6 separate regions of the Homo sapiens genome follow, and regions 2, 3, 4, 5 and 6 are each linked to region 1. Evidence: promoter capture Hi-C in human tissues and cell types (Jung and others, 2019). All regions are on one chromosome and are shown on one strand. The core of a region is centred on a gene start or on the middle of the fragment in contact, and the rest is flanking DNA. Distances in the headings are between cores, read along the strand shown.

Region 1 (3,145 bases), core at 441-2,940:
CTGCCCCAGCCAGCTGCCCCTCAGGCTTCTGGAGCCCCCAGAGCCACACTGAACTTCAAGCATCAGTGGGTGGAGCTAAATAGAAGTCACTAGTCCCTTCTGCAGTTGCCATGAAGCAACTTACAGTAGTCTCCAATGGCAGTTAACAATTGCAGGAGTTTCTTTGTAACTTGTCCCAGTGTAAATAAGGGTTAGTCCTAACAGTAAAACAAAACAAAACAAAACAAAAAACCTTAGGGCTGGGCACAGTGGCTCAGGCCTGTAATCCCAGCACTTTGGAGGCCAAGGCAGGAGGATTGCTTGAGCTCAAGAGTTCAAGGCTGCAGTGAGCTATGATTGTGCCACTGCCCTCCAGCCTGGGTGACAGAGCAAGACCCTGGCTCAAAAAAAGGAAAAGAAAGAAAGAGAGAGAGAGAGAAAGAAAGAAAGAAAAGAAGAAAAGAAAGAGAGAGGAAGGAAGGGAAGGAGAGAGAGAAGGAAGGAAGGAAGGAAGGAAGGAAGGAAGGAAGGAAGGGAGGGAGGGAGGGAGGGAGGGAGGGAGGGAGGAAGGGGAGGGGAAGGGGAAGGTGAATGGGAAGGCGCCAGGAGCCGTGGCTCACGCCCGTAATCCCAGCACTTTGGGAGACCAAGATGGGCGGATTACCTGAAGTCAGGAGTTTGAGACCAGCCTAGCCAACGTGACAAAACCCTGTCTCTACTAAAAATAAAAAAATTAACCAGGTGTGGTGGCGTGCACCTATAGTCCCAGCTACTTGGGAGACTGAGGCAGGAGAATCACCTGAACCCAGGAGGCAGAAATTGCAGTGAGCCGAGATTGTGCCACTGCAACTCTAGCCTGGGCGACAGAGGGAGACTTCTGAAAAAGGAGAGAAGAGGGGAGGGGAGGAGAGGGGAGAGGAGGGGAGGGGAGAGGAGGGGAGGGGACGGGAGGGGAGGGGACGGGAGGGGAGGGGAGGGCCCAGAGATCTCTAATTCCAAACTCTGAATCTAACTGTACAGCAATTCTAGAAGAGCCTAAGATCATAAAATCCTGAGCATCTAAGATGTGGGTTCTCCTTATTTGACCCCTCCCAGGTCAACATCCTTCTCCTAACCCAAGTGTCAGTCTCTTCCCTTGCCAGTGAAGTAGGGAAGAAGGCATGTACACATACACACACGCACACGCACACACACACATGTACATACCCCATGGGGGGCAGAGGGTCACAAGCCCAGGAGGAGGGGGCACAGCTCACCTCGGCCCCCCAGTGCCATGACAGGCTGGCTGTGCCTCTGCTACCAACAGCAGCCAGCTGGTCTTGCTCACTTTGTTCTGAACTTAGACACCTTCCTTCTGCTGTCTTTCATCCCACGGCAATAGCGAAGAGATGAGAGTATAAAACAGAGATCCCTTTCATCTAGCATGACCCATGCTGTTTTAAGGCAGAACTCAGCATTCAGAGAATGTTCCAGTGATTGACCCAGCAACACAGACAAGCCGTTTTCTGTTCTCTAGTCCACATACAAGGCAGCTCCTCCACTCCTGATGAGGAAGATGCCGGCCCCTCCCACTCCCCTGGGACCACTCTCGGGCCCCATCAGACCTGTGTCGGCTGAGCCCCTCCGTAGGCTGAGCCCTCCGTAGGCTGACCTGCTCTTCGCCGGATGGACTGCGCGCACTTACCTTCCCCCTCCCAGGGAAGCGAGGACTGAATGTGGCCCAATCTCTGGCTGAACTGAACGGCAGTGGACAAGCAGGTTTGACAGGCACATCCCACAGGAGCAGTGCCTTATATGGGGCTTCTATGAGCCATCGAAGCACCAGTGCAGTCCCACAGCTAGACATTGCCGTAAGAACCACAGGGATGGCTGAGAACAGTCCGTGCATCTGGTCGACCCACAGAAGATGGTGATTGAGGGTGATTGAGGGGAAGGCTTCAGGCTTGGGGGCTGGGAATCCTCTCTCCTTTGTGAACGGTCACCCAGTTCATCATCATTTCTACCCTTGGGAAAATCCTACGAAGATCAGGATAAATTCTAGGGCCTTTCTTGGTTCTCATGATCCATTATTGGAAGTATCTGAATAATTCCAATAGATCCATCTCAAGTTAACATTTCATAACTATTGTTTAGATTTAGATGAAAGTCTTGGTCCTCCACCTTGAGATATGTCTAGAATCCGATCCATTCTCACCACCTGCATTGTGGTGTCCTGATCATGGCCCACCGGGACCTCTGTAATGGCTCCTAACTTCTTCCCACGCCCCCATCACCAGCGCTCAACACAGCAGACAGAGAAGTCCTGCTAGGGCATGAGTCAGCTCCTGTCATTCCCTTCGGTGTACAGGTCCTGGAGTCCTCAGCGTGACCATGAGGCTCTGCTTATCAGGTCCTTGCTGACCTTATCTCTCTTTTACCTGCTCCAGACACACAGCCCAACAGTCTTGACAGTCCAGGCACACTTCTGCCCCAGGGCCTTTGCACCTGCTGTTCCCACTGCCTGGAACACTCTTTCCCATCCCTCCTTCCAGACTCTACTCAAATGCTACTTCCCAGATCATCCTACTTAAGTCCGTAGACCTCCCATCCTGGCCTTCACTCCCCTTCCCTGTTCCATCTTCTCTGTGGGAATACTGCCTTGACCTAACGTGTATTCTAGTTACGTGGCTTCCTGCCAGCCTCCCCACTCCACAGTAACCTACTGAGGACAATAATTCTTGTCTTTCTTGTTCCCTGCTGTGTCCCCACCCCTAGGGCTGTGATATTCCACAAATATTGGTTGAGCGAATGAATAAACATTGGTTAGGGGCTTGGTTCCCAATGATGCAGACACTGAAAGAAGGGAAATTCACAGGTCCATGGCCTGAGAACCTTCAGGATTATCCTGCGGACAATCAAAGATCGGCCTTCAAGGTCATGTAGCTCATGGTGGCTGAGCAGTAGCTCCAACCCAAATCTCCTGGTGATGAGCCGGCTGAAGGCACAGCCAGTTGGGCAGAGCAAGTGAGAACGCAGGCCGAGGCCAGGTGCAGACATGAACTCTCCAACCAGGGTTACAGCCCCACTGGGTGTCAGCTTCCCCTCAGGCAGTTCATTTAAGCCCCTAAGGCTCAGCTCTCTTAGTTTCCTCCAGCAGACCTCATGATAAGCCCTCCCCCACAGTGGG
Region 2 (3,145 bases), core at 241-2,740, 250 kb before region 1:
GAGTAGCTGGGACTACAGGCATGTGCCACCACGCCCGGCTAATTTTTTGTATTTTTAGTAGAGATGGGGTTTCACCATGCTAGCCAGGATGGTCTCGATCTCCTAATCGCGTGATCCACCCACTTCGGCCTCCCAAAGTGCTGGGATTACAGGAGTGAGCCACCGCAACCGGCCCAGGTCTCTTTATTTTTAAAACCCAGTCACTGGGCCAGGAAAGGGAAGGGGACTGATCTTGGAGGTGAGCCACAGCCCAGGCAAAGCCACACCACCTGAGACGACACTGAGCGTGCAGGCGGTGAAGTGGTCTTGTCCCTGAGCTGAGGGTGCTGCCCACAAGACCCTGTTCAAACCTGATGATGGGGCTTAGAACAAGGGCAACAATCTGCCCAGGGCCGCTGTGCCAGGCTGGCAGCCACACAGGTGCCGCCACTGCCCAGTGATGGGTGCTGAGCCCGCTTCCTTCCTGTGGCTTCTCTCCTGCTTTGGGCACATCTGACACAGCTCAACAGGCTGGTATTTCTGGCGGCGGTGGACTGGCTCATTGAGTGGGTCTAAGGTCCCCATCAACTCAACAGATTTTTATTAAGCAACTTCTCCATGCAGGCACCTGAGAGCTAGGAGGAATGAGAGACACAGTCTCTGCTCTCAGAATCTGCCATCCAGTGAAACAGCTGGGGGTGTCAACAGCTCCCTCCATTGTGAGTGTCTCACTCCCAGTGCCAACATGGGGTCCCAGAGGAGGAAGATGCAGGGGAAGGTGAGGTAGGAAGAGTGTGGGTGGCAGCTCCAGGCAGGTCTTGGCGGGAGGGGGGCCTGGAGGCTGTGGTACCTGAGCATGCAGGGGAGGAGACAGGGGCTGGGGCAAGGCGGGGTGGGGAAAGCACCAAGTGCGCCCGGGACAGCCTGGAAGCCCGTCCTGTCCCCAGTAACTGGAGGACTTAGCCCTACTTGGTGTGCCACGGTGGCTCAGAGGCAAGGGGGACCAGAGAGGCAGGCACACCCAGGAGGCAGGAGAGGAGCTCAGAGCGCCCTCAGCTGAGACAGGCAATGCAGCACCCAGAGGAAAGCAGGTCTTTCTTACTCCAGGCCACAAGCCAGGGATGAGGAGGGCAGCGTCAGCAGGCAAGGGCTGGTCCAGAAGTGTCCTCATGCCCAGGGCCACCACAGCCCCGCCACTGAGCTGCCGGGCATGGCCTGCAGCAGGCCCCTCCTCACCTTCTCCTTGTGCAGGGCGTTGTTCTCCAGCCCATCCACCTGCAGAAGTTTCTTGGCCACCCCAACACACGGCAGGTCTGTAAGGACGCCAAGGTGGCAGGCCACCCCAAAGCCTGCCAGAGAGAAAGGAGGGTGGGGTTGGGGAGGTGGGGCTGGGGCCTGGCACAGGGATTCAGGACAAGCCAGTCTTACCAAAAGCTTCCCTAAGTGAGCAGAGGTCTGTGGACAGGCAGAGGGCTGGGGAAACCAGATCTAAGTCCCAAGCAGACCTGGGCGAAAGCCCCCTGTGCCCGATGTCCTGGGTGCAAGGCCGTGGAGGAAGCCTCCTTCTCTCTGACACGGTCAGTGCCAGGGTCAGCACCTCGCTGGCGTGCTGGGATACTGCAGCTCTCCGGTCATTTCCTGCACCTCCCAGCTTCCTCTTCCCTCGACGGTGGCCTGCCAGCGCTGGCACGAGCATGTGGGTCGGCACATGACAACCCTTTGGCTCTGCACCCATGTGCGAGGGCAGCAGCCAGGGCCGAGTCACACTTGCTGGCCAGGAAGGCCCAATGTCACCCCTCCTGGGCCCTCTCTGGGTGCTGCTGCGCCGCCCGCAGCTCTGTATGTAACAGTAAAAGAGCCCATCTCCCTAGGCCGGGCGCGGTGGCTCACGCCTGAAATCCCAGCACTTTGGGAGGCCGAGGCAGGCGGATCACGAGGTCAGGAGATCAAGACCATCCTGGCTAACACGTGAAACCCCGTCTCTCCTAAAAATACAAAAAAATTAGCCGGGCGTGGTGATGGGCACCTGTAGTCTCAGCTACTCAGGAGGCTGAGGCAGGAGAGTGGCATGAACCCGGGAGGCGGAGGTTGCAGTGAGCCGAGATCGCGCCACTGCACTCCAGCCTGGGCGACAGAGCGAGACTCCGTCTCAAAAAAAAAAGAGCCCATCTCCCTCAGCCACGCTCCCTAGGCCAAGGTTCCTGGCATCAGTGGGGGCCTGGGTACACCTGTCTAGTTGTGGACAAGGGGCCTGACGGGCCATGCAGGTTGGGCGGCTGGCAGGGAAGGCCACTCTGAGCCCGGGCCCTGGGACATCTTTTGGTGATCAGGTCAGAACTGGATAGTGGCACCTGGAGATGAGCCAGCACAGGGCACTGTAGAGAAGGCAGTGGCGGACAGGAAAGAGGTAAGGGGTGAAGCGAAAGTAGACAGTCCTTTACCGGCGGTGGGGGAGGCGGGGCTGAGCGCACTGCGCGTCCCCGTTGCGCCGAGAAAGAAGCCATTGGAGGGGGCTGGCGGCAGAGGCCGAGGGCCCAGCATTTTCTGTGGGGGACGACAGAGGTGCCCTCTCCCCCCGCTCTTCCCCACAGTGCCCTCCCTGGACCTCCAAGAGCAGGATTACCTCGGTGGTGGAGTACCCCGTTTCCATCCACAAGAAGGACCTATGGAGCCACAGGGAGAGTCACAGTCAGCTGAGCTGCCCCTCGGCCCTCAGGACAGGGCCATCCCTGAGGCAAGAAGGGGGCACTGTCTCTGGGGTCCAGCTTTTTAGAAATCCTCATTCCTCTCTTCCAGGAAGCTCATGAGTCTCTCCCTGCCACTGTGGTGGTGGCGACCTGCAGCAGCCTTCCCTCCCCCAGGGGGAAGGAGGGACCTTTCTCTCGTCCTAGGGATGAGACACCTGCCTGGGGCATGAGGCCCGGCTCCTTCTCCCGCAGCTGCTGCACCAGCTCCAGCAAGAAGGGCACCTCTCGGAAGGCCAGGAAGCCCGACACGTAGGGGGCTGTGAGGCTGACCATGCGGCTCTCCTCATACACCACCTGACACCAGGCACGCAGCTCAGTGGGAAGCACAGCCTTCGGCCACCTGCTCCATCCCCAGTCCGTCCATGCCCTGCCCCCCTCATCCTTCCCTCTCCCTTACGTCACCCTCATGGCTCCCCTTC
Region 3 (3,145 bases), core at 409-2,908, 210 kb before region 1:
GCATGGTAGGGGAATGACCTACGGGGCTGACTTCGGAACTGAAGACTCCCCATATATGCACACTGAACACTTGCGTGCAGACGCTCCCGAATACCGCAGGTCTTAGCCAGGCAGGGGTGAATGGAGGGAACAGAGCAGCTCCTTCCAGCCTCTGGGCAAGCAGAGTGCTTCCTTTTTCCAGCCCCAGGCATCGCCTTCCCTAGACACGGTTTTCTCTCTGTGTGTTCTCTCATTCTTTCCAGCAACAGCACAGACAGAGCTCAGACTGGCTGTGTGTGGGGTGGCCCACAAGACAGCGAGCCTGCTTGCGCTGCCGTTGTGCTGTGTGATCCCCGCCCAGCCCTTGCCCCTTTCCTCACTTCTGCTAGAGAGCTGGTGCTGCTCTTGGAGAAGCCTGCGCAGGACGAGGTGGACCACGCCGATGGTCTCGTCGGCACTGTGTCCCAGCATCTTGGCCAACTGCTCCAGGTCCTTCAGGATGTGCTGCTGCAGAAAGCCTTTTGGATCCCTCACTGGAGGCTTAATGATGTTTATCAGAGCCTGTGGGGGCAACGGAACAGAGTGTTCAGCGGGGATCTGGTTTGTAGAGAAGATGGTGAGCCTGGTAGAGGCCATTGGGAGTGGAGCACCAGCATAGAGTCGGAAGGCGGTTTCTAAGATGAAAACGGCGGAGTGATCCAGGTGAAAGGAAGGCTAGCAAGCGGAACGGCTGCTGGCTTTTCTGTTGTTACAGTGAGATAAAGAATATCCAGATTGTACTGTTGGCCATCTTGGTTATGCAGTGTGCTCTTTCTTCCCTAGCTACAATGAAGACACAGGTAAAATAATGAAGATGTCAGCCTCTCTACTCCCAGATGTGGACCAGAGACACAGAGTGTTAATTTGAAGTGGATTCTGTATAATCTGGGGAGTAGTTCCCCCCATACCATCATACGCCACAGGGGGAAACATGAAGATGTATAACTTGTATATTACTTTGTAGACTAATTATCTCCAAAACGCATAGATGGCAGCTAGGACTCAAGACAAAAGGACTCCCTGGGAAGAAGCGAAAGCAGGTTCTTAACTGAGCCCATTGTTTGGCAGCACTGGGTTATACCTGGGAACTCTGGGACGCTCCCAGAAGCAGAGCCAAGTGAGTGAGTAGCCGGATAAGGAGGAAGACCACTGGGGGCAGCCCTCGGTCACATGTCACCACGTCTCTCCGCTGCGGGTTGCCCAGCACGTGGCCGGTCTGCGTTCTGTCTGCCTTGTCTCTGGAAAGAACGAGAGAACACAAGACAGAGGCTGAGGCTGGCCGCTTTGGCACGCTGCACTTTCTCAGCACTTGGAGTGAGGCTTACGGCTGAGAAGAGAGTTATGTGAAGAGTACTTGCTGTTCCACAAAGCCTGGACCATGTTCCTAAGAGTCTCTCTCATGATAGACTCGCCTTTCCGGTGGACCAGACCCGACCGCATTCTCAGCGTCAGGTGGCTGCGCTGTGTGGTATTGATGCTGATCCCCGGGCAGGGTGTTAAGACGCAGGCCTGGACCCGTCTTTTCCACTGAAGTCTTTGTCAGGAGAGGAGCGGTTGGGCTAAGAACAGCTAGAGTTTGGGAGGACAGTCGGCATCCCATGGGTGTCCATATTGTTCTCATCTCCCCAAAGGAAAAACCGGGATCTAAAGTCCGGCAGAGAGGAGATGCAGTGTGGCCGATGCTCTCAGTGGCAAAACTATTAGAGGATGGAGGACACTGTGACAGTTTCTGGAGATAACATGAAAGTATTTTAAGCTGTGACTGCAGGGAACAGTCAGAATGTGAGGCCCCCACGCAGGTCCCACTCACTCTCTGAAAGGAGCATTTAGAACCACATTCATCTCAGCATGGGATTGTGGGATCGGATTTGTACCTGGATTCTGAAGTCTGGTATTTCATAAGACTATGTCTGTCTCCTTCATTTTTCTCAAAAAATAAAAAATGGAGAAAGCTAAGATTGCTGGCAAGTGAGATGGCATCTGCTGAGACAGACGGATGCCCAGGTTTTGGTCCTGCAGACATAGATGTCCTCGTGAATTAGATCATCTGTTTATGTCATGCATATTTCTACAGAAGGTGCACCCAAGGCCCAAAAGGAAGACACCTGTATTCATATTAACAGCTGTTAAAGGGTAGCCTGCTTTGCATTTCAGGGCCCAGGGATCCAACAACAGATCAGATGCCTCCCTGCTGTGTGACTGCTGGGACTTTGGCATTGCTATTCAATATGACACAGGCCCACATGTACTGGAGTAATTAGTACTATCTTGAGTATCACTTTATCAGCTGGAATAAAAACAGCCCAACACCCCAAAGTTTGAGTACTTAGGAAATAGAATCCTGACCCACATACTTGACCAGATGAAAGCCGTCCCGAGGTTTGTGGTCAATGCCTCCAATCGGCGCATGGCAGTCAATGCAGATGCTCTGTTCCATCGGCCTGCCACACTAGGGTGAAGACAGGGCACTAGAACCACTTCTGGAGCAGTACCATTTTATGCACAAATGCCATCATGCAAATGAACACCTCCTTATCACCGGCAGACGTGAGCACCCTCAGATTGTCCCAGTGTGTGCTTGTTTCGGGTGGGTGGAGAACCCATGGGAACAGGGTAGGTACTCACTAATGTTGCACGTGGGCAAACTGGAACTGTTTTTTAAATAAGTGAGACAATTTAAGCTTTATTCCCAGAGTGACACTTTATAGACAAATATATAAAATTCAACCTTCCTTTCTTGTATTCAGCACTTTTTCCATCCCTCCATCTATCACACTAGCCTGTGGCACTTCATGATCTAATACCAAGAATACTAGAAGAGCTTCCAAACTGACTTCCTTATATTCATTTGGACTTTTTCATATATCAATTTTTATGAGACAGAGCCTCGCTCTGTCCTCCAGGCTGGAGTGCAGTGGCACCATCACGGCTCACTACAGCCTTGACCTCCCCAGGCTCAAGCAATCCTCCTACCTTAGCCTCCCAAGTAGCTGGGACCACACGCATGCACGCATGCACGCATGCACCACCATGCCCTGCTGATGCTTTGTGTTTTTTTGTAGAGACGGGGTTTCAACATGTTGCCCGGGCCAGTCTCAAACTCCTGGGATCTAGCAATCCACCTGCC
Region 4 (3,145 bases), core at 435-2,934, 190 kb before region 1:
GGCAGGAGCACCTGCCCGTCTTCTCATGGACATGCCTGGCACTTGGCAGGCTCCTGGTGAGCGCGCGCCAGATGAAGCAGTGGGTGAGGGCTCCTGGGTCTCACCTGACTTCCCTGATGACAGCCTGGGCCAGGCTCCCGCTGCCTTGCATGTGCTCATCGGAGCAGATGAGCTCCAGCGGCATGGAAAGATTCTTCACCAACTGTAGCCACGCCTGGGGACTGGGCTTCAGGGTGTTTCTTGTCAGCATCTCCGTGCAGGCCATTGCGGCAAATGCGTCCAGGGTCTGGGGAGACGGACAGCAGGGCGTGGCTGAGCGGTGCCCCTCCCACCGGCCCACCAGAGGCCCCGGCTGTTAGCTGCATGTATACTTGTGTCCCAGGCTTGCGACCTAAACTTTCATTGTCTAGGATGTGAGAAGCGTCAGCGAGATGTGTCCTTAACATCTCTGAATTCAGCTAAGGTATGTGCCTTGTGAAGAAATCTCCCACTTGGAACACAGCCCCAGAAGCTCTCCATTCCCAGAGTGGAGTTGGAAGCACCACAAGGCTTGCTCAGGGCAGGCGGAGGAGGGCCATACCATCTCACATCCAGCCAGCTCATGGTTCCAACGGGCTTCCATCAGGCTGTGGAGAACCTGAGGGTAGATGGTCAGGATTCTGGAAAAGTTCTGCAGACGGCTTCTGAAACGCTGGTAGGCAAGGTGCACCCACGGTAAGGAAACCTCTTCCTCGGGCGCTTCTGACGCCGCTTTCAGTTTCCTAGTGCAGGACCACAGAGCCATCTGCAGAAACTGGGATTCAAAAAAGCTTTTAGAATATATTTTTAAATTACAAAAATGGTATGTTTTCCCCGTGGGAAATCCGAACTATTGGAAAACCATAAAAGAGGAAATTAGAAACCATGTGTGCTATTCTGTCCCGTTTGCTTCTGTCCAGTTTTCTATCTGCCTCTCCTCCCACGTTAAGGTCACCGTGTCGTCTGGGCTTTTTGCCACTGAACATGACATCATGAACTTTCCCTATGACTGAGTATACTTGAAAAACATGGTTTTAATGGCTGCTCAATAACCCATCATACGGCCATACTTTAATTTGCCCATCCTGTATTTCCGGACAATTAAACTATTTCTTATTTTTCGAAGCAAAGCTGAAAAGGACATCCCTGTGAACCAAATATTTGTCCACATCTCCAGTAGTTTCCTCAGGACAGAGTCAGCAGTTCAGATCGGATAAGGTGCTCAACTGTTCTGCCACGCAGCCCTGCAGGGCGCCCACTGTGCACGCTACACTGTCAGCCGCGTGGCCTGGCTATTTCTTTGCAGCACTGGCCGGCGGCTGTTGTTTTTAAAAATCAGCTTTGCAAAATGAATACGTAAACATGATATCTAAAAACTGTTGTGTTGATTTGCTATTAATAGTAAGGCTAAGCAATTTTTCAAATGTTTCCTGGATGTTGATATGCTTAATGAGATTATAAAATTGTTGTTTTATAACGTTTACCCATTTTTTAAAACTTAGGGTATTTTCTTATTGATTCCTAAGAATATTAACCTCTAGTCATATTAGCTGTAAGGATGTTCTTAAATTTGTCACTCTCCTTTTTTATGTACTGAAGTTTAAAATTTTTAGGTAGTCAAAAGTATGACTTTCTATTGAATTTCACTTGTTTATTCTTACCCTGTAGGGTTAGTTACGTATTTAATTTTTTTCAAGAGAAACTCAACATTTAAAAAGAAGCTATGTCAAGGAAATTGGAGGTCTTCTCATGTTCACAGAAAGCTCCGTGTTTTAGGAGCCCCTGGGCGGTGGACTGAGGGTGTAGCACTGAATATTGAGAGGAGACTGGGCGACCCCTTCACCCACCGGCACCCTTCGCTGACCATGTTCTGTTCCCAGACTTCACAGCACCAGCTCCAGGCAGCTGAGGAAACGTCTCCGTGTCTGCATCCAGTCCCCATCATGCAAGCTCTACACCTGACCCTTAGCCAGTATCTAAACATCTACCTTTAATTCCTCCTCCGTTGACACACGCATGGTCAAGAGAATGAAATCCTTCAAGTAACACTGAAGAAGTTCCTGCTGCGGCTCTCCATGGAGCTGGGCAAGAAACCTGCCCAGAGGAGTCTGCTGAAAGATGTCCACGAACTTCTTGGGCAGTCCTGCAGAGAGGAAACCAAGGAGCGGCCTGGAGTGCGTCTAAGTCATGGCGCTCCCCTGCCTCCAGGGGGCTCCGGAGTGAAGGGGAATGGGGACGCCTTGTTGAATGGGAGCTCGTAGACAAAGGGGTACCAACTGCCTGATTTTGTAGGGAATTGAAGGAATAGTCACTGTCTAGACATTTAGGATATTTTTCTTTTTCCTTTTTTTTGGAGATGGAGTCTTACTCTGTTGCCCAGGCTGGAGTGCGGTGGGTAGCGTGATCTCTGCTCACTGCAACCTCCGCCTCCCAGGTTCAAGTGATTCTCCTGCCTCAGCCTACCAAGTAGCTGGGACTACAGGCATGCACCACCACACCCAGCTAATTTTTTGTATTTTTAGTAGAGACGGGGTTTCACCATGTTGGTCAGGCTGGTCTCGAACTCCTGACCTCAGGTGATCTGCCGGCCTTGGCCTCCCAAGGTGTTGTGAACCACTGCGCCTGGCCTAGGATATTTTTCCAGTGGAATAAAATAAAGGAAGGCGGAAACAGTGTCAAATTTAGGTCAGAAACAGCCAAGCTAGCCCCAAAGAGAAACATCTAGATAAGACTGAGTTGTATGTTGCATGGCTACATTGTATGTTGCATGGCTACAGGTCACAGCATGCTTCAGGAACCCCCGGGTCCAAGTAAATTAGGAACAAGTGGGCTGCTCTTCAGGGGCTGGGGGTCACAGAGCATGCAAGCCAGAAAGATCTGGCTTCTAGTGGGCGGGGTGCAGCCCCTAATTCGCATGCTGTCATAGAAAAGCAGGGTCAGTTGGGGTATTGTCCTGAGAAAGGAATATGCTCATGAGGAGAGAGACTGCTTTGAGAAAAAGTGGCAGAATGGTAACCTAGAAAAGAAGGCCACCCTGAGTCTTCCAAATGGTACGATAAGTAAACGTGGAAAAGACTATTGCATGTATGAAAGATGGCTTTTGTAAAAGTGTTGCGTTGTCGTTGGT
Region 5 (3,145 bases), core at 342-2,841, 170 kb before region 1:
ACTGGGCATACAGCATGAAGCCTGAATTGAACAGAAATATTGAAGACACTGCTAATTAACAGAAGAGTACTTTTATCCCAGACATGATTAAAAAGTGAGTTTAAAGATGGGCTTTTCTTTACTAACACTGCATTCAGCTGCTGCACTAAGTAAGGCAAAGATGTGGAGTCTCCTAAACGCGCCATTCCACTTCAGTAAGACCAGAAAGAACCCAAGAGCCCCCCACGCCAGGCGAAAACGCCCCACAGTACAGACCAGCGCTGAAGAGCTCCTCGACGGCACTGACGTCCTCCTTTCCAGGATTTCAACGATATACAAATGGCAGGGGTTCCGAAGCCACATTTTCCCATTTATATCCATTAAGTATTGTAAAATGAGGAGCTTGAAAAGAAACACCCAAATTCCAGTCTGCACCTAAGAACAGAATCGCACGAGGTGTAAACACACGACACGATGGCGAGTTCTCCCAACTCTAAGTAACCCCTCCTTATTTTGCTCTTTGTCACGATGATCCTGATGATCAACATCAACATTTCAGCCAACAACGGCCCATGTCTCCAAGGGCAGCCCCATAAAATCCTAATACTATATTTCCCTGTACCATTTTTATGTTTAGACACATAAATACACCGTTTTACAATTGGCTCCAGGATTCAGAACAGCCATATGCAGCACAGGTTTGCGGCCTAGGAGCGACAGTGTGTACCATAAAGCCTGTGTGTGCAGTGGGCTCTACGTCTAGGTTAGTGTAAGCGCACACCATGACGTTCACACAAGGAGGAAACTGCCTGACAACACACTTCTCAGAGCACATTCCCACTGTTAAGCTTCACAGGACTGTGCGTGTGGAAACAAGGAATTCTATACACGGGGAGGAGTCACGCAGAGACATGGGGACCACGTCTTTACTGATGTGGCCATCGGCTGACGCTGGAGGGCACTTACTGAGGAGGTCACGTCCAGGTGAAAGAGCACGGGGACCTTCTGATACTGCGCATCCAGGAAGGGCAGCAGGGCGCCCAGGACTCGGCTCTCATCCACCTGAGGGTCGATCAGTCGAATTGTTTTCAGAGGCACATTTTTCACGTTTAACTGCATCTTCATTTTGTCGTGCAACCTCTTCACGTACAGAGACTTTCCTATAACATTAATACAGAAATTAGGGCTGGGAGTGGTGGCTCACACCTGTAATCCTAGCACTTTGGGAGGCCGAGGCGGGGGGATCACTTGAGGTCAGGAGTTCAAAGCCAGCCTGGTCAACGTGGTGAAATCCCGTCCCTACTAAAAATACAAAAAAATTAGCCAGGCGTGGTGGCAGGCACCTGTAATCCCAGCTACTCAGGAGGCTGAGGCAGGAGAATCGCTTGAACCCGGGAGGCGGAGGTTGTAGTGAGCTGAGATTGCACCACTACACTCCAGCCTGGGCATCCCTTAAGACATCCCTTAGGGTGCAGTTGTCATCGTTAGGGTGACAGAGCGAAACTCTGTCTCAAAAAATATATATATATAATATATATATACATACAATATATATATAATATATATATACATACTATATATGTATATATAGAATATATATAGTATATATGGAAGTATATAGAATATATATTATATATGTAAAAATATATAGAATATATATAGAAATCTATATAGAATATGTATCGAATATATATAGTGTATGTATATACAGCATGTGTGTGTATATATATAAAAATAGAGAGAGAGAGAGAGAGAAAAATTAAGTCCCAGGGCTAGGACAAAGAGTAAGAGAATCTATAAAGATCCACTAGAAGTTACTTCTCTTTGTATAAAATTCAAAACTGATGCAACATAACATCAGATTCAAGAATACGCTCTTGAACCTTCACATTTCCCAGCCGTTACCTACTCACTCTCCTGGTCACCTCCTGCCTCCGCAGGACAGCAGGCAAAGCAGAGTCCCGCGCCACTTAGCACTAGGGACACGTTCTGAAAAATGCATTGTGAAATGATTCTGTCACTGTGAACATCAGAGTGTGCCTGCAGAAACCCAGATGGTAGAGCCGACCACACACCCGAGCTAGGTGGAATAGCCCATTGCCCCTGGGCTGCAAGCCGTGACAGCATGGGGGCATCCTACATACAGTGGGGAGCTGTGACACGGGGCAAATATCTGAATATCTAAACATATTCAGGCCAGGCACGGTGGCTCAGGCCTGTAATCCCAGCACTTTGGGAGGCTGAGGCGGGTGATCACTCAAGGTCAGGAGTTTGAGACCAGCCTGGCCAACATGGTGAAACCCCATCTCTACTAAAAACTAGTCAGGTGTGGTGGCGTGTGCCTGTAGTCCCAGCTACTCAGGAGGCTGAGGCAGGAGAATCGCTTGAACCCAGGAGGCAGAGGCTGCAGTGAGCCGAGATCGTGCCATTGCACTCCAGCCTGGGCAACAGAGTGAGACTCCATCTCAAAAATAAAAATAAAAATGTAGAAAAGGTACAGTAAAAAATATGGTATTATAATCTTTTGTTCTTTCTTTCTTTCTCTTTTTTTAAAAGACCAAGGCCTTGCCCCGTTGCCTAGGCTGGAGTGCAGTGTCGTATTTGCAGCTCACCACAGCCTCGACCTCTTGGGCTGGAGCGATCCTCCCAAGTCAGCCTTCCTAGTAGCTGGGATCACAGGCATGCACCACCATGCCTGGCTAATTTTTAAAGTACAGTTTTCTAATCTTATGGGACCGTGGTCATATACGTGGTCTGCTGTTGACTGAAATGTCATTATGTGTTGAGTGACTAGCTAATAAAAGTCACAGCAAAAGGAGAGGCTTCAGCAGGGAGGGGAAGAGTAATGTTTATCCCAACAGGACGAGGTACTGTTGATAGGATAAAGTCAACAGAACAGAAGCTACTATTTCTTTTTAAGGGAAACAAGATGGCAAACGAAGGGTGGGTCAAGAGGCATGGCTTTCTCTTCAATTCTACCTCCCCTTGCTCACACGACCAACATCAACCCCAAAGAGGCCAGTGGCATTTAAGGGCAGAAGAAGTAAACTTCAGGCCGGGCGTGGTGGCTCACACCTGTAATCCCAGCACTTTGGGAGGCTGAGGTGGGCGGATCACCTGAGGTCAGGAGTTTGAGACCAGACTGGCCAACATGGTGAAACCCTGT
Region 6 (3,145 bases), core at 163-2,662, 150 kb after region 1:
ACAGATAATTCACAAGTGAACACAAATGTCTAATAAATATAGGATAATCTGTCACCCAGGGTGGGGTGCAGTGGTGCAATCATGGCTCAATGCAGCCTCGACGTCCTGGGCTCAAGTGATCCACCTTAGCCTCCCGAGTAGCTGGGATTACAGGCACACACCACCACCCCCAGCTAATTTTTTAGAAGTGGGATCTTGTTATGTTGCCCAGGCTGGTTTGTTTGTTTGTTTTTGTTTTTTGAGATGGAGTTTCACTCTTGTTTCCAGGCTGGAGTGCAATGGCACGATCTCGGCTCACTGCAACCTCCACCACCTGAGTTCAAGCGATTCTCATGCTTCAGCCTCCCGAGTAGCTGGGATTACAGGCATGCACCACCATGCCTGTCTAATTTTGTATTTTTAGTAGACACGGGGTTTCTCCATGTTGGTCAGGCTGGTGTCGAACTCCCGACCTCAGGTGATCCACCCGCCTTGGCCTCCCAAAGTGCTGGGATTACAGGCGTGAGCCACCGTGCCCGGCCCTGCCCAGGCTGGTTTTGAGCTCCTGGGCTTGAGCAATCCTCCCACGTCAGCCTCCCAAATTGTTGGAATTACAAGTGTGAACCACTGTGCCCAGTCAGAAAACCATTTTTCAGTTCCCAGCCTGGTGGAGATTTAAATCCCTGGCAGCACTCTTACATTTCGGGGAACCCACTGGGCAATACGAGTTGGGGTCCAGTTTATCCTCCTGGGGAAACAGTAATCCTGGAAATAATGAGGATACAGATGAAGATTTATGTATTAAAATGTGGAGTTTATTATTTCAGTAGCCACTAGTTGGAAGCCAGATGCCTAGCAATGGCGGCTGATTCTATGAAGATGGAGGGTTGGCATTTATAATTTTTATTTTTATTTATTTATTTGTTTTGAGATGGAGTCTCGCTCTGTCTCCCAGGCTGGAGTGCAGTGGCGCCATCTCAGCTCACTGCAACCTCCACCTCCTGAGTACAAGCAGTTCTCCTGCCTCAGCCTCCTGAGTAGCTGGGACTACAGGCACCCGCCCCTACGCTTGGCTAATTTTTGTATTTTTTAGTAGAGACAGGATTTCACCATGTTGGCCAGGCTGGTCTTGAACTCCTGATCTCAGGTGATCCGCCCGCCTCAGTCTTCCAAAGTGCTGGGATTACAGGCGTGAGCCACCACACCTGGCCTTATACTTTTTAAATGTGTTAATAATGTGGTATATTTGTTTGCTAGGGCTGCCCTAACAAAGTACCAGGGTCCAGGTGGCTTGAGCAATAGAAATCTCTCTGACAGCCCTGGAGGCAGGAAGTCTAAGATCAAGGTGTCGGCAGGATTGTTTCCTTAGGAGGCTGTGAGGGAGGGGCTGCTCCAGGCCTGCTCCTTGCTGGTAGGTGGCATCATTGTATTCACACAGCACTCTCCTTGTATATAGGCACCTGCTACCAACTTCCTCTTTTTATAAAGACACCAGTCATATTGACCTCAAGGTAACTTGATCACCTCTATAAAGATGCTGTCTTCAAAAACAGTTTCATTCTTGGGTACTGGGGTTTAAGACTTCAACACAGGAATTTTAGGGGATGTACTTCAACCCTAAAGTTTGTTATATCATAAGTATACTTCACCTGGGAAAATATATTTATGATCCAACTGAAAGCAAGATATGATATAATTCCAAGGAGTGGGTTTTTCATTAACTCATTCATTATAGGGCACAAAATATAGTAGAGAATACATAAATGTCTTAGGATTATGTGATTTAAGGGACACGTATTCTTCCTTTTCCTTCTCTGAGTGTGTTTCATAACTAAAAAAAAGTTTTAAAAAATGGGCCAAGGATTCTCCACTTCTAGTTTGCTGGTGACCAGAGGTTGGGAACTAGGTTGGATTTCGATGAAATAGCCTCTTGCGAAACAGCAAATGCACTTTACAAATAAGGAGAATTGTTTTTAGAGAGCAAACAGTCCTGTCTAATGTTTAATAGACATGCTCCATTTCTCCAAAAAGAGCCCAGTCTCTCCAGAACAATCTGGGAGGGGCGGGGGGGGGTTGTCCTGGTGTCCCAGGTGGCGGGTGATGGAGGAGCCGGAGTTCTGCACGTGGGGGACGAAGGTCTCACGCTGCAGGGTTTCCCGCTCACGAAATGACCCTGAGTGGTCAGAACCTGTCTTCTCCTCCGTAAAGCTGCACTGTTGGGACGCACCTCGCAGAGCCACAGTGAGGTTCTGCCTGTCATGGTATGGGAGAAAATGCTGTATTTTGAACACTTGTATTTCGGAATCTCCTTTAAAGCTTCCAGCACATTCTTTTGATTATCCTCAGTGCTGGCAAAACATTTTCACTTAAAGAGGGTTTTGATTTGGGGAAGCAGCTGAGAGCTGTGTGCAGCCAGCTCTGGCAACTGGAGCGATCACACTGAGTAGAGCCATTTGAAACACAGAAGGAGGTGGGCTCCAGCCCCGCTGCGGCCTTGTCCAGTGTGGACACCGCGCAGGCTACAGAGCACCCAAAACGTGGCTGAGCAGAACTTTGACGTGCTTAAGTGCAAAATGCACAGCAGACTTTGGAGACTTTAAGGACATAAAATAGGCCAGGTGCGGTGGCTCCCGCCTGTAATCCTAACACTTTGGAAGGCTGAGGCAGGAGGATCACTTGAGGCCAGAAGTTCAAGACCAGCCTGGGCAAAAAAGTGAAACCTCATCTCTACAAAAAATAAAAAAATTAGCGGGACCTGGTGGCATGTGCCTTTAGTCCAGGCTATTTGGGAGACTGGGCAGGAGGATTCCTTGAGCCCAGGAGTTTCAGAATACAGTGAGCTGTGATCACACCACTGCACTCTAGCCTGGGTGACAACCTGTCTCTAAAAAAAAAAAAAGAATGTAAAAGATTTCATTAATAATTTTTTCAGGCTGGGCACGGTGGCTCACGCCTGTAATCCCAGCACTTTGGGAGGCCGAGGCAGGCGGATCACGAGGTCAGGAGATCGAGACCATCCTGGCTAACATGGTGAAACCCCATCTCTACTAAAAATACAAAAAAATTAGCCGGGCATGGTGGCGGGCGCCTGTAGTCCCAGCTACTCGGGAGGCTGAAGCAGGAGAATGGCGTGAACCTGGGAGGCGGAGCTTGCAGTGAGCCGAGA

The links. Contacts are between HindIII fragments. The study calls those that stand out against the background at their distance.
Region 2: a fragment that was not itself captured here is called in contact with the fragment with the promoter of CARD14 in region 1 in 4 of the 25 tissues and cell types used here (adrenal gland, bladder, mesendoderm cells and 1 more).
Region 3: a fragment that was not itself captured here is called in contact with the fragment with the promoter of CARD14 in region 1 in 5 of the 25 tissues and cell types used here (H1 embryonic stem cells, lymphoblastoid cells, mesenchymal stem cells and 2 more).
Region 4: a fragment that was not itself captured here is called in contact with the fragment with the promoter of CARD14 in region 1 in 1 of the 25 tissues and cell types used here (small bowel).
Region 5: a contact is called between a fragment that was not itself captured here and the fragment with the promoter of CARD14 in region 1, in 1 of the 25 tissues and cell types used here (mesendoderm cells).
Region 6: a contact is called between a fragment that was not itself captured here and the fragment with the promoter of CARD14 in region 1, in 1 of the 25 tissues and cell types used here (adrenal gland).

Annotation. Positions count from the first base shown.
Region 1 is chr17:80,168,575-80,171,719 of GRCh38, reverse strand. CARD14 (caspase recruitment domain family member 14) reads right to left here and starts at 1,690. Exons shown (of 24, transcript NM_001366385.1): 1 at 1,664-1,690. The HindIII fragment of the contact is 21,960 bases long and covers 1-3,145 here.
Region 2 is chr17:80,421,703-80,424,847 of GRCh38, reverse strand. ENDOV (endonuclease V) reads right to left here. Exons shown (of 10, transcript NM_173627.5): 3 at 2,886-3,020; 4 at 2,603-2,642; 5 at 1,216-1,328. Among named protein-coding and RNA genes, the nearest start is that of MIR4730, 3.9 kb to the right of the region's middle. The HindIII fragment of the contact is 8,908 bases long and covers 1-3,145 here.
Region 3 is chr17:80,378,942-80,382,086 of GRCh38, reverse strand. RNF213 (ring finger protein 213) reads right to left here. Exons shown (of 68, transcript NM_001256071.3): 55 at 2,373-2,467; 56 at 1,100-1,256; 57 at 360-540. The region is part of intron 1 of RNF213-AS1 (RNF213 antisense RNA 1); the gene reads left to right. Among named protein-coding and RNA genes, the nearest start is that of ENDOV, 35 kb to the left of the region's middle. RefSeq lists an enhancer at 1,265-1,765. The HindIII fragment of the contact is 3,872 bases long and covers 1-3,145 here.
Region 4 is chr17:80,360,750-80,363,894 of GRCh38, reverse strand. It overlaps RNF213 (ring finger protein 213), which reads right to left. Exons shown (of 68, transcript NM_001256071.3): 39 at 2,007-2,161; 40 at 581-793; 41 at 105-286. The region is part of intron 1 of RNF213-AS1 (RNF213 antisense RNA 1); the gene reads left to right. Among named protein-coding and RNA genes, the nearest start is that of ENDOV, 53 kb to the left of the region's middle. The HindIII fragment of the contact is 6,097 bases long and covers 1-3,145 here.
Region 5 is chr17:80,341,126-80,344,270 of GRCh38, reverse strand. It overlaps RNF213 (ring finger protein 213), which reads right to left. Exons shown (of 68, transcript NM_001256071.3): 27 at 946-1,139; 28 at 256-414. Among named protein-coding and RNA genes, the nearest start is that of ENDOV, 72 kb to the left of the region's middle. The HindIII fragment of the contact is 5,401 bases long and covers 1-3,145 here.
Region 6 is chr17:80,018,347-80,021,491 of GRCh38, reverse strand. The region is part of intron 1 of TBC1D16 (TBC1 domain family member 16); the gene reads left to right. Among named protein-coding and RNA genes, the nearest start is that of TBC1D16, 16 kb to the left of the region's middle. The HindIII fragment of the contact is 5,540 bases long and covers 1-3,145 here.